Linked DNA regions of Homo sapiens: all the other regions are linked to region 2. Evidence: promoter capture Hi-C in 16 types of primary human blood cells and fetal thymus (Javierre and others, 2016). All regions are on one chromosome and are shown on one strand. Each heading gives the region's core, a stretch centred on a gene start or on the middle of the fragment in contact. The rest is flanking DNA. Distances are from core to core; before and after follow the strand shown. Region 1 overlaps TMEM164 (transmembrane protein 164). Region 2 holds the start of ACSL4 (acyl-CoA synthetase long chain family member 4). Region 3 has its middle 5.1 kb from the start of TMEM164. Region 4 overlaps GUCY2F (guanylate cyclase 2F, retinal). Region 5 overlaps TMEM164 (transmembrane protein 164).

Evidence for each region. The method cuts DNA at HindIII sites, captures the fragments that hold promoters and counts their contacts. A CHiCAGO score of 5 or more calls a contact.
Region 1: a contact is called between a fragment that was not itself captured here and the fragment with the promoter of ACSL4 in region 2, in 3 of 17 cell types (total B cells, neutrophils and naive B cells). The highest score is 6.7, in total B cells.
Region 3: a contact is called between a fragment that was not itself captured here and the fragment with the promoter of ACSL4 in region 2, in 9 of 17 cell types (neutrophils, non-activated CD4 T cells, total B cells and 6 more). The highest score is 15.8, in neutrophils.
Region 4: a fragment that was not itself captured here is called in contact with the fragment with the promoter of ACSL4 in region 2 in 1 of 17 cell types (neutrophils); the score reaches 5.8 in neutrophils.
Region 5: a fragment that was not itself captured here is called in contact with the fragment with the promoter of ACSL4 in region 2 in 1 of 17 cell types (neutrophils); the score reaches 11.1 in neutrophils.

Annotation. Positions count from the first base shown.
Region 1 is chrX:110,013,081-110,015,780 of GRCh38, reverse strand. All of the region lies in intron 2 of TMEM164 (transmembrane protein 164), which reads right to left. Among named protein-coding and RNA genes, the nearest start is that of TMEM164, 11 kb to the right of the region's middle. The HindIII fragment of the contact is 266 bases long and covers 1,230-1,495 here.
Region 2 is chrX:109,731,868-109,734,567 of GRCh38, reverse strand. It overlaps ACSL4 (acyl-CoA synthetase long chain family member 4), which reads left to right and starts at 1,311. Exons shown (of 16, transcript NM_001318510.2): 1 at 1,311-1,429. It overlaps LOC105373311 (a long non-coding RNA gene), which reads right to left and starts at 2,057. Exons shown (of 1, transcript NR_158569.1): 1 at 1-2,057. RefSeq lists silencers at 1,049-1,358, 1,456-1,576 and enhancers at 1,699-1,838, 1,899-1,948. The HindIII fragment of the contact is 5,191 bases long and covers 1-2,700 here.
Region 3 is chrX:109,996,657-109,999,356 of GRCh38, reverse strand. No RefSeq gene overlaps it. Among named protein-coding and RNA genes, the nearest start is that of TMEM164, 5.1 kb to the left of the region's middle. The HindIII fragment of the contact is 4,228 bases long and covers 1-2,700 here.
Region 4 is chrX:109,474,059-109,476,758 of GRCh38, reverse strand. It overlaps GUCY2F (guanylate cyclase 2F, retinal), which reads left to right. Exons shown (of 20, transcript NM_001522.3): 2 at 738-1,552. The coding sequence starts at 823. Among named protein-coding and RNA genes, the nearest start is that of GUCY2F, 6.7 kb to the left of the region's middle. The HindIII fragment of the contact is 1,503 bases long and covers 695-2,197 here.
Region 5 is chrX:110,035,431-110,038,130 of GRCh38, reverse strand. All of the region lies in intron 2 of TMEM164 (transmembrane protein 164), which reads right to left. Among named protein-coding and RNA genes, the nearest start is that of MIR652, 19 kb to the left of the region's middle. The HindIII fragment of the contact is 5,858 bases long and covers 1-2,700 here.

The DNA of each region.
Region 1 (2,700 bases), core at 113-2,612, 280 kb before region 2:
GTCCCTTTCCTCAGGGTGCCAACATTCCCTGTGGGGCTGGGGCTCCAGGAAATAGGTAGAAATACCCACATGAAGCAGCAGCCAGTAGCAGTGGCAGCCCAAGGGACCAAGTGTGAAAGCGCTGCTGATAATGAGGCACTTGTGCACATGACTCTGAGCAACATTCCTGCAGGGTGCAGAGAATAAAGTGACAGGCGCGCACACACACACACACACACACACACACACACTCAAGTTCCTGGAACTTAAAAAAGGAAACTCTTAACAAATGCAAACCAACAATGAACAAGTGCTGATATGAAGAGGACCCTTTGTTACAATCTTCCCTAGGTCTTAGAATGTGTGAACTTTCATAACTAATTTCCAAGCGCTGCTGTTTATTTGGGTTGCTGTTTGTTTAGAAATGCCCTCTAAACCAGCTCCTCTTCCAGGAACCAGGTTATAGAAAACATGACCTTAGCTTTCTCAATTCTCCCACCTCCAAGACTAAGAAACAGCCTTCTTACCCACAATGCTTGGGAATATGCCCAGAGGCCTTCCAATGGCCTTGGCAGGATACAGCACACCCCCCACATCCCAAGGCCTGAAATCACATGATCAAGGTCTAGGCCCCAGAAGGCTGCTCTTAAGGGGATCCTTCTCTAGTGATTGGTGGCTTAGGCCCCAGACCTCAGTCTTGAAAACGAGGCCCCAGAGCAAAGTCTTGAAAAGGAGGAGAGCTGGTCTTAAGGAGAGAGGATTACCATATCCCGGAGATGTAAGAATAATTGGTTTTTTTCTGTCCATTTGCTGATGCAAAAAGCCAAGGCACAGTGAAGTCTTCTCCTGAAAGCAGCACAGTTTCCACTATACTGTGCTTCTCCTTCAGCTAAGATACTTGTTCACTTGAACCTGCCTTTCACCCAGGAGCTCTGGGGGTGGCCCTTTCTCTTCCAACAGTTACCCAGCTCTGGTAATAGTTGGCACTGGAGAAAGTTGCACTCCCCTTAATCAAAAGAAATAAATGAAAAAGTAAAAAAAAAAAAAAAAAAAAAAAGAAACAACCAAAAAAAAAAACCCATTCACCAGTCTATGCCCACCCCATTCCCCCAAGCTCACTCCTTTCATACTTCTGTCACAAACTCACTGGTTTCCTAGACTACCAATCTCAAGAGAGTTTGCACCATGGAGCCAGCCCATTGATAAAGAGCAATAATAATTAAGCCAATAGGTCCCCGGAAAGCTAAGCTTCCTAACAATGAGAGCCACCTTCTAAATTCTTTAAATCTTAGAGATGTAAGAAGAGTTGCCATTTTAAACAGAATCACCCAGTCACCCAGAAAGGACTGGATAATTTAAAGTACCTTCACATTACCCACAAACACGTCCTTAAGCCTCAAACAGCCAAACAACCCTGTCCCGCAGAAATTATTACATGGGTGCTAACTTCATGGAACCAATACCTTTGCCCACTGCATGAAATTATGATGCCAGGGAAGATTTTCTTGGAAAAGCTTTCCTGTATCAAATCCCTACCATCTTATTGCAACAACAGGCACCCAGGCTCGAAGCAGCAGCCATAGTGAGAATGATGATGACTGTCATCATCACCCTCACCATCTTAGTTGCCGACATCATCGTCATCATCATCATCATCATTTAAATGTATTGAATGTGTCTTATGTGCCAGATACTATCTTAAATGCTTTATTAATATTTTCTCATTTTTCTCACTTAATCCTCACAACAACTCTGGTAATGTTCAAGTTTGATCATATCATTTTATGAATGTGGGAACACAGGCTCAGAGAGGTTAAGTAATTTGCCCACGGTTACAGAGCTAGTGGTAGAATTTGAATCTAGGCTTTTACCACCCTAGAGCCTGTACTCTTACCCAATACACCACTATGATCTTGAAATGTTAAGTAATACTATTACTATTAAAAACTGCTAACATTTATTTAGTGCACACAATAAGCCAGAAATTCTGCTAAATACTTGATTTAAATTATTTTATTTAACCCTCACAACAACCCTATTATTATTCCCATTTTACAGATGCAGCTAAGTAACATGCCTAAGGTTACATGGTGATGGAGCTCAAACCCAAACCCAGGAAATATGGTCCAAAGGCTCTATCCACCAAGCTGAACTTGCATTAGGAAAATGAAGCATTCCTACTGCCCTACTTAAGTCAGGATCCCCGCTGTATCCCAGTCCAAGCCTACAATGTCCCAGCAAGAATTTGGCAAGTAAATGCCAATGAGGAAACTTATCTGGCCCTGATGTGTACACACCAGCCACTCAGATCTGATTAATGTTAAGAAAAGAAGATCAAAACTCTTTATAGAAGTCTCTCTTTACCCCATTTTCCTTCAACCTGATTTCTGAAGAGAACACCTGACTACCAGCCTTTTTGTGCTCTGCCCAGAACATCTAATAAGTGTTTACCCAGGACTCCCAGAGCCATAGTTAAGGGCCTTAATGTGCAATCTGGCTCTGCACCTTATTTAATCAGCACCTGAATGAAATGTCTCTTTGCTAGCAACAGCCAGAACACAGTCAGTCAGAGTCTTTCTGCAAACACAGCTGGTCGATTGGCAAAGACAATTCAATTCACAGGCAAAATACACCCTGACTTTATACCAATACTGGCATGTGATGGACATGAGGAGACTGAAGGCACTGGGCTAGAATTAGGATGGTACCATGCTTCCTTTC
Region 2 (2,700 bases), core at 62-2,561:
TCTTGGAAATTGAATTGGTAATATGGCTTTAGAGTAGTAACACAAAAACTATAGCTCTGTGCTCTCAGCTAACCACTTTTAGTGTCACCTGGGCTGCTTATTAAAAATTCAAATTTCTTATCCCTACCCAGATCAGAATCAAAATACCTGGGGGTTGTAGCTCCAGGTACCTACATTTCAACAAGCACCCCAGATAATTGTGATGCACACTGAAGAACTACTCTAGCTTGTAATCTCAGGTGGTAAGGCATTTTATATATACATATATATATACACACACACAAGCACAAATGGTAATTCTATGGGAAAATGGAAATCAGCAAGTGAAGTGAAATGTCAATTACCATCAGGAACAGGAAGCTAGTTCACCATTACGCATCAGGGAACTGGAAGAATTCTTGAGATTTATTTTTTTGGGTGATATATTCTTGGCAGTTTATCAGGCCTCATTTGCAATTATGGTCTGTCCCTTTTGAAGCCCTCAGATAGTTCGCTGGCATTTTAATTTTAATAGCAATTTCTTGCATCTGTTGGAACAGCATTCGTATGACCGGCTTATAAGCAATGATCAGGGCTAGTAAGATGTCACAAAGCTGCGGTGACTTTTCCTTATCAGTTGGGGGTTTTTTTGCCATGATACCATCGTGGAAATGAAAGACAACGTGAAAATCCTGCGTCCTTGTGATATTTCATCAGTGGGAGTGAGCGGGGATCTTAACGCAGTAAGAGGCAAGATAAACGGATGAGAGGCATTAGTTCAGGCTTACAGGAGCAAGATGCTTTTAGTCAAAGTGTTCAAGATAGCTCTCTTAAAGAGGAGCAGTGAAACCCAAAAATGAGTGTCTTTTGAGGGCAGCTGGAAGATGACCCGAGGGGAACTTTTATCCTGGGGTGGAGTCCTGCGAAGCAAGCCGCAGGTGAGGGCGTGGGCCAATTCTGCGCCTCACTGCTGTTAGGCGCAAGGACATCCCGAAACACACTCAACGACACCAGCAGCGAGACTGACAGAAGCGGATCGCCAGCGGGAGCAACAACTTGAGGCGAGCCGTTAGCCGCCTCGCCTTCCTCGCAGCGCCCCTCCCGCGCCCCGGGAAGCCCGTTCGGCTCCGCCTTTTCGACTGACGTCCCGGGCGAGCGGGGGCGGGCGCGTGGGTGGGCCGAGCCGTCTGCAGCCAGCGATTCGGCTGGCTCTGCCACACCACCGCGCGCCCCCGCTCCGCCCGCCCCTCCGGGCGCGTCTTTTCCGGGCTCGCGCTGAGTCCCGCCTCCGCCGGCTGTCCGGGTGCGCGCGCGCCGCTGCGGCTTTTTCTCTGGCCTCCGCCGCGCGCTCCTCCTCGTCCCAGCGCTAGCGGGCACGCGGTTCCTTTTTGCGAGCTTTCCGAGTGCCAGGCGCCGGCCGGCTGCGAAGACGCGGTGGGCCGCCCCTCCGGTGAGTATCCCTGGATGGGGAGGTTGCGGCCCCGGCACCCCTGCCCTGTCGGTACCAGGGCCCCATTTCCAGAGGGGGACTGGCGTACCTCACCTGAGCCGGGAGGAGGTTGGGTGGGCATTCCAGCTCCTGGAGTCGGCTCGCTTTTTTCCTTGAGCCAGGGCTATCTATCCGCTCGCCTCCGCTGGGGCCGGGAAGATTCCCGAGGTCACTGTATCTGCTCCTGTGATGGACTCTGGGGTCCTCGGAACCCCAGCCTGCCTCTTCCTGCCGCTCACCGCATCCCGAGGGCCAGAAGTCATCTTCCTGATCGGGGTACTAGGCTTTGCCACGGCCCTTTCCGGAGGAGACCATGAAGTGCTTGCTAGACCTCCAAACGACCTTTAGGGTGCCCCTAAACCTCAACTCCATTTTGTCCCCTCCCAGTCGCTCTGTAACTGAGGGCTAGGGAGCCTCTCTAGCCCTAGAGGCATCCGCCCTCTCGAATTTGAGGGATGCCGTCGCTTCCGATATCTTCCTTGCTTCCGATATCTTCCTAGCTTCCGTAGGCTTAGGTTTGTTAGAAAACAGCTGGATCCTGGCGAAGCGTGCTTTCCTTCCTTCCCCCACCCCCGTTCTTTCTGTCTACATCCCTGCCTTCAGTGGGTGCTATATATTTAGTATGAGCTTTATTCACTTCCTCTTCCTCTCGTTTGAGTGCCTGAAAGAACTGTGGCTGATGTCTATAGACATAGAAAAATCTAGGAGAATATGATTCATTGTCTAACCCCATCAAGGGGTTACATATTTTAAATAAGACGTCATTTCTCCTCTTCACTCCAGCATCTCCTCCTTCAAAGGCATTTTTCACCCTCTTGAAATTAATACGCTCTATTCGCTCTTTTCACCTAAAAAAAGGTCAATCGTCGCTCTGAGAAACAACAGTGAGATGCAAAATAAGGGTAAAATGGCATTGAAATGAATCCCTTTGAAAAAGTAAGCGGTTTGCTTTATCAGTTAATGGTCTCATCAGCGCTTCAGTTTCCTCTTCTGCAAAAATCAGTCTGTTGAACTAGAGCATATCAAAGGTTCCTTCTAGTGTTTTGATTCTAGGACCTCTAAATTCATGCAGGCTGCATAATGCAAATTTAACCTGATTAAAGCCTTATTTCTCATAGTCGCTTGTCACCTTAGTTTTTCTTTTATTTTGTCTCTAACAAGAAAGACTTTTAAATGTTCTTGATACGTAAGGCAGCAGGTGGAGATTCAATGATGGTACTGCCATTGAGCAT
Region 3 (2,700 bases), core at 158-2,657, 260 kb before region 2:
TAGCTGGGATTACAGGCATGCACCATGTCCAGCTAGTTTTTGAATTTTCAGTAGAAACAGTGTTTCACCATGTTGGCCAGGCTGATCTCCAACTCCTGGCCTGAAGTGATCCACCCACCTCGTCCTCCCAAAGTGCTGGGATTACAAGCGTGAACCACTGCGCCTAGTTGTTTTAACGATTTTTAATTGTACAATTTAATGACTTTAATCACATTCACAATGTGCAACCATCACTACTCTATTTCTGAAAGTTTTCATCACCCCAAATAGAATTCCTATACCCATTAAGCAAAAAAAAAAAAAAAAAAAAAAGTCCAACCTCCATGAGACAGAGTCTCACTCTATCCCCTAGACAGGAGTGCAGTGGTGCAATCTCGGCTTACTGCAACCTCCGCCTCCGAGGTTCAAGTGATTCTCCTGCCTCAGCCTCCCGAGTAGGTGGGACTACTGGCATGTGCCACCATGCCTTGCTAATTTTTGTATTTTTAGTAGAGACTGGGTTCCACCATTTTGGCCAGGCTGGTCTTGAACTCCTGACCTCAGGTAATCTGCCCTCCTCAGCCTCCCAAACTGCTGGGATTATAGGCATGAGCCACCGCATCTGGCCAGCCTGAGCTAGTTTTTCAAGTTTTCTTTCCAGGTCCTCTTAGCCAAGGTAGGGGGTGTGTGTTGGGGGGTGTGTCTGTTCAGTCATTTAGGGGGCTTAAAATTTTATTCTGGGTTTACAAGTAGAATAACAAAGTGTTTTTAGGATATGGATTCGAATCTAACCCCATTTATATTATTTACTTGCTGTGTCACCTTGGACAATTTACTCTCAACCTCCCTGTGCCTCAATTGCCTCATCTATTAATTGAAAGATACTATTATCAAATTGATGAGGTTATGCACAGTCAAATGAGCTGAATGTTGGGGACCATAAGGTGGTGTCTGGTGCATAGAGAGTGTTCACTAAGTGCTCCCTATTATTACCCATCCCTGCATTTGCATGTGTACACACACCCAAGCACGTGCACGCACACACAACCTCAAATTCAGCGCCCTCCCCCACATTTGCATAAACAATCCTACCATCCTTCAAAGCCCACGTAAAATTTCACTCCCCCCAATCCCCCTCCCTCAGCTCCTGGAGCTCTCTTCCTCCTCTGAACTTGTACAGCATTTATTGCCTGCACTACTCATTTTATTCTGAATCACATACTGCCTTCCATTGTTCTCTCATTGTGACTCTTGTCTCCCACACCAGGCTCTTTGAGAGCTGGGAATGGATCTTAATCTTTTCTAAACCCCACCCACAGCACCTAGCAGAGTGGCAAACTCCTAGTAGGCACTAAATAAGCACTAGGAGATTGTTGTCCCCATAAGTAAAAGGCAGGTAATAATTGAGGTGAAATGGTATGTTGAATTTAGAACTGCAAAAGCTGCAGGCAAAAGTCCTGATCATATCTTTGCTGGGATACAGGCCAGAGCTTTCTTGTCGCCAACCAGTAACAAGAGCAAATCAACTTTGCTTTTTAAGTAGATCCTTGAAGCACAACAGTGAAAACGGAACCCAGAATCCAGGCTTGGTTCAGTGAAACCTTGGGGAAAATAATCTCTCTGTGCTTCTGTGTACTCAGAAGCAAAATGAGAGGGTTGGACTAGAATGGTCTCTAAAATACCTGCTGGCATTAATCTTCTATGATTCTACGAACTCAACCTTCCCACCTTTTTATCCCAGTCTGGTTTGAATCTTAAAGCAGAAAGATAATCTACCTACCTGACTTGGAGATCTGGGGAGTCTGGGGAGACAATGCTCTAAATTCTTTTGGCCAAAGTGCCTCCCAGCTATGAACACAGCTGACCTACTGTGGAGTGCAAAGTGTCAGAAATTATTACCTCTGTTGTACCACAGACAAACTGAGGTTCAGACAAGTGAAGTGACTTGCCTAAGGTCACACAAGTTAGTGGCAGAGTGAGGACTAGAACTTGAGGTTCTAACTCCCGGTCCAGTGATCTTTCAACAGTAGGAGCCAGAGCAAGCTCGTTCCTTTGACTTCATCATCTTACCTTTTCTCCTCCTGCACTTTATTCTTTGAATCAACTCCTACCACTCTGTCCACAATGGAACCTGAGAGTCGAATGCATACATGATCTTTCACAAGCAAAAAACAATGCACACTCCCAACATTATATGAAGTGTTAGCAGTAAAAATAAACTGCATATGTACGGAGGATGGAGAAGTCTTTGTCTTAATTTGACTGTCTGCTTACTGCTTCTGCCACCATGCAAAACATTCGACACCAGCATTCATTCCGTAAGTACTTTCTGAGTCTCTATTATGTTCATAGGAATGCTCTATTGCCTGTGAGCAATGTCTGCTCTCAAGGAGCTTAAAATTCAGCTAGGGAGATACTCACAAACAAGGGAGGTTAGAAAACAATAAATAAGGGAAGTATAAACACAAGCCAAGAAAATATGAGCTGCTACCACAAAAACAAGTCTTGTATGTGTCAAGTGAGTTTTACCAACAAGGAGAGTGAGAAGAATTCAGGCATAGTTCAACACCAAGTAAAGCCATCTATGGGGAGAAAGGTCAGCATGGCAGATACCCTAGAGACACTGACGGGAAGGGAAAAGAAGGAAGCCTCCTGGAATGCCAGCAATGCTCTGTGTCTTGATCTGGGTGACGTTACATGGATGTATACATATGTAAACCT
Region 4 (2,700 bases), core at 197-2,696, 260 kb after region 2:
TCTATCTATCTATCTATCTATCTATCTATCTATCTTTACCTCTGGGTCTTTCTGCATGTTGTTCCTTCTGTTTGGAAGGCTCTTAGCATCTTAGCACCAAACTACTCCTGCAACTTCATTCACCTGGCTAACTTTTCTTCAGTACTCAATCCAGAGAGACTGTTCTTCCTCCCTTCTCTCCTCCCCTGAAATCTGGGTTTAGGTGATCCTCTCTGTCTCTCTGTTTGGGCTACCTCAATCATAGCACTTTTTACTCTGCATTGTTATTATCTGTTTACATCTATTTCTCTCCAAGAGAGCTGTATGGGAGAGAAAAATGGACATATTGAAAACTATAATAATGATACTATGTCTAATATAATGCCAATGACTTGCCAGGCTCTGTTATAAGCACTTGCCGTGTGTTAACTCATGTAATTTTCAAAACACTGTAAGGTGGGCAGCTATTACTGAAGTTGAATAAATAGGAATTGGTGATAGATTGAATGTGGGGGAAGAGAAGGAGTCTCAGTGATTTCCAGTTTTCTGAAAGAAGCAAGTGGGCAAACAGTGGATGGATGTGCCATGTACTGAGATACGGGGTACAGGAAGAGGAGGAGTTTTGTCAGGATGGGGGAAAGAAACTTTTAGTTTGGGCACTGCCATTTTTTTTTTTTTTTTGCCATTCTTTCACAACCGATGATTTCCAGAAGCTTCAGAAATAATGTGAGTAACAAACCTTTTCCTCTGATTGACAGGCATTTGGAAACACCACCGTCTGTGTCGGGAAAGCAGAATAACTCTCCAGTATCTCGTCATTAGCTTGCTGGAAGCAGGAGGGCTATGTTCCTGGGACTCGGGCGCTTTTCTCGCCTTGTTCTCTGGTTTGCGGCTTTCAGGAAACTGCTGGGACACCATGGCCTTGCATCTGCCAAGTTCCTGTGGTGCTTGTGCCTTCTGTCTGTCATGTCCCTTCCGCAGCAGGTGTGGACACTCCCCTACAAGATAGGGGTGGTGGGCCCTTGGGCTTGTGATTCGCTGTTTTCAAAGGCCCTGCCTGAGGTTGCTGCGCGATTAGCCATTGAGCGAATCAACCGGGACCCATCTTTTGACCTGAGTTATTCTTTTGAATACGTGATTCTCAATGAAGACTGCCAGACTTCGAGGGCTCTCTCCAGTTTCATTTCCCACCACCAGATGGCCTCAGGATTTATTGGACCTACCAACCCTGGCTACTGCGAGGCAGCCTCGCTCCTGGGAAACAGCTGGGACAAAGGAATTTTCTCTTGGGCTTGTGTGAATTATGAATTAGACAATAAAATTAGCTACCCGACCTTTTCTCGGACACTCCCTTCTCCCATCCGGGTGCTTGTAACTGTCATGAAATATTTCCAGTGGGCTCATGCTGGAGTCATTTCCTCAGATGAAGACATTTGGGTGCATACAGCCAATCGAGTCGCAAGTGCTCTTCGGAGCCACGGCTTACCTGTAGGGGTCGTCCTGACCACAGGACAAGACAGCCAAAGCATGCGGAAAGCCCTCCAGAGGATTCACCAGGCAGACAGAATTCGCAGTGAGTGCTTTCTCCCGCTGAAATTTAAACGTGACTTCAGGGAAAGAGATTACAATCTCCAAAAGGTTTCCTACCCTCACACCCTAGGGTAGCACATCCCTTCCCATTTCTTTACACATTTGCCCTTTTTCACTCACACACAGGTCCCAAGACTGCCCTGCTTCAACAGAGCCTATTTTATGAACTGAATAACAGTACAAAGAACTCTGTGCTTCATATGCCTGTGAATGCTAGTGCCTGCTCTTAGCGCCTGAGTGAAGAATGGTGTCAAGAGCACTGTAGCCATACATCCTTTCTTTCTGCCCTTAGGACCTTGGTAGCTTCGAAAGTGCCAAAATGGTATGGGGAGGCGCGGGTCTTCTTATGGCTTCATTTTTGTTTGTTCTAGTCACTGAGGAGAGATTTACTTTTGACTCCCTTCTGGATACTTTCCTTCAACGGTACCCAGTGTCCTTGTGGGACACTTACTTAGAATCTGTCTTCTGTGGACTCCGAAATGTCCATACCTTCTGCCTTTTCTCAAAGCAGGGCTTTTCTTTTTGCAGCACACAGTTAGTTGATATGGGGGGCACCTAGCTGATGAATGAAAGCATATTAAAATGAAAAGACTGTCTAAATTTTAAGTTTCCCCTTCCAATGGAAGCTTAATGTTCAAAGACGATTCTTGCAGAGACGATAGACAAAATGTGAAGCAAAGGACTTGACCCACTAAAGCTATCATTCTCAAAGTTAGTTGGGTGCATTTTGGCAAAAGGGGGCCCTTTCTGGTCCTCTTGAATCAGATCTCTTTTACTCACACTTATGGCAAGCCCTTGTGACACCTAGTTTTGATTTTTTCTATTCCAATTTTTTAACCTCCATTTTACCTTCCTCTGGAGATGGCTATGATTCATGGGAACGCTGCTCATTCCCCCACTGCAGCCACTCCACCACTTTAGGATGGATATCTCAGAAACTATTTGACAAACTGATTCCTTCAAGGATTAGTCCTGGTCCCAGTCATTTCCTTAACCATTGTTAAGGAAATGTTTGTTAGAGAATGGTCCAGCTTAGGCCTGGCCTATAATCAGAAGCCTGTTTTAAGTTTCAAGTGGCTTCAGTATTGGACCTTAATTATGATGATCACAAGAGGATGAGGGCAAGAGGAG
Region 5 (2,700 bases), core at 91-2,590, 300 kb before region 2:
TAGTCCCAGCTACTTGGGAGGCTGAGGCAGGAGAATGGCGTGAACCCGGGAGGCGGAGCTTGCAGTGAGCCGAGATCCTGCCACTGCACTCCAGCCTGGGCGACAGAGCGAGACTCCGTCTCAAAAAAAAAAAAAAAAAAAAAAAATGAGTCCAAAGGCTGTTCTTTAGGAATACGATAGTTAATGATTAAGTCCATGTGCTAAGGTCACGATGCAGTTATGGAAATATAAGCAATCTAATAAAGGACGGAGTGAGGGCAGTAAGGAGTAGGTAGTGGGAAGAAATATTAATTCAACTTAATTGAAAGGTTCAACTTAATTTAAAGGTTAAAAAATGAGATTGAAAATATTCTCCTAACAGTAAAATTAGAAATTTGCTATCGGCCCTTAAAGGAAGCAGGCAAGTGAGAACAGAATGAATGGGCTCCCAGATTGTTTCTGAAGAGTCAAAGAGCCATTCAAGACACACCTTTCAAGGTACCAGGGTCACAGATGGCAATTTTGCCTGTGGCTAAGCAGAGGTGACTGGCCTGCCTCCTGTCACATAGGCGGCCATTCTCCACAGCCCCCCAGCTACAAGCCCTCCACAATATATGGTGGTGTATATCTGAACCACAGGAAGGCACACAATAACTGGAAGCTAATGCAAAAATAAATCATTTGTGTTTTCTGATGTGGCTGGGTTTTGATGGAGTTTGTGAATCACTACTGCCCAACCCTATCCACTGAAGGAGGGGCCAATAACTCACATCCTTTCCCAGCAGCTTCATACGCCTGGCAAAGGTGACCTTGCAACACCACACTCATCTATCACTCCTCTTTTCATGAATCTTTAATGGTTCCCTATCACCAATCGTATCATGTCCATATGTCTCCTCTAGGTATTCCAGCTTATTGTACTCTGCCTTTATCCTACCAATCTGGCATCATCTCCCTTTTCTCACAACATACACCTCCCGCTGGAATCAGTTTCCATTTTGAACCAAACTTATGGCTTCCCCTCTCTCTCTCTCTCTCTACGGCTCTACCAGGGTCTAGACTGCCTCTCCAAAATTCCAGAAAACTACAATGTCAATGTTACTGTGGGTCACTATACATACCCAGCTTCTTTTGGCCATAAAAAAGAGACCATAACTTTAAATATTCTACATTATCCTGCACTGTCCCATATGGTTACCACTAGCTACATGTGGCTATTTAAAGTATTTAAAATTAGTAAAATGAAAAAAAAAATCAGTTCCTCATTTGCAGTAACCACATATACAGTGCACAATAGCCACATGTGGCCACTGACTACCATATCAGACAGTGCAGATATAAAACATTTCCATCATCACATAAACTTCTACCAGATACACAAGAGAATAGCCTAACATATGCTAAAATTGTTTTTTATCACTACTTGGAAAATTTGATGATTCAAATTTCACAAAAAAGAGTGACTAGGACTTATAGATACAGCCCATCTTAAGTAACCAGCAAAGCATCTCTTATCAGTGATCCCAATCCGTTCTGTAAACATCACAGGTAATTGCAACATCGAATATTTTGAAAGGTCATCTGCAGCAGACCTTAGGCACCTTTCAACATAGCTCTGATAGGCTAATCAGCCCATTGTACACTAAGCTCTCTACTAGGCTCTGGGAGTCAATGCAAAGATAACATTACCCAGTGTCCATGCCATAGGCATAAAGCCAGTACAGAGATAACCAAAAAAAGGGGCAGAAAGACATAAATACCACAAGAGAGGTACACAGTGCTACAGGGATTCAAAGGCAAGAGATCATATCGAGTAGGAGGAACTAGGGAGGACTCCACAGACAGGTACATGAATACAGATAGGATTGAGCCCTAAAGAATAAGTAGAATTTTAACAGAAGGAGCCAGAAAGATGAAAGGGGGTAACTGCATGAGGAAAAGGAGAAGCAAGTTAGGGCCCAAGGTACATTTATGAAAAACTGAGCCAAAGAAGAACTATGTGATCCCATTCATCATTCAACAATCATTTGAAACTTTTTCTCCAATCACCTTAACAAAGAATTACACATTAACTTAGATGCCATTTTTTTAAAATTTGCTTTAAAAAAAAGATTTTGCTTTAGTGACAATATCTGATGTTGGTGAGGATGAGTTGGAAGAGGCTCTCTCTGTCCCCACTGCTAGTAGGAATGTACATAAGCACTACCTTTTTTAAAAAAAAACAACAAAAAAAGAGATATTAAGCTCCTTAAAAACATCCATACCCCTGTCCTGGTAACTCCACTTCAAGGAAAGTGACCTACAAAATAATGTGAAACACAAAGATTTGTACAAGAGTAAACTTTTTAAAGTTTATAACTGCAAAAAAAAAAAAATAGGAGCACATTGGGAGGCCGAAGTGGGCGGATCACTTGAGATCAGGAGTTCGAGACCAGCCTGGACAACATGGTAAAACCCCATCTCTACTAAAAAATACAAAAATTAGCTGGCCGCGGTGATGGTAGCCTGTAGTCCCAGCTACTTGGGAGGCTGAGGCACAAGAATTGCTTGAACCTGGGAAGCAGAGGTTGCAGTGAGCTGAGATCGTGCCACTGCACTCCAGCCTGGGTGACAGAGCAAGAATCCATCCCCCCTAAAAAAAAAAAAAGGAAATGGCTAGGTAAATTATGATCCAGTTACATACAGGATGGAGTACCACATAGGCATTAAGAGTTATGCCAA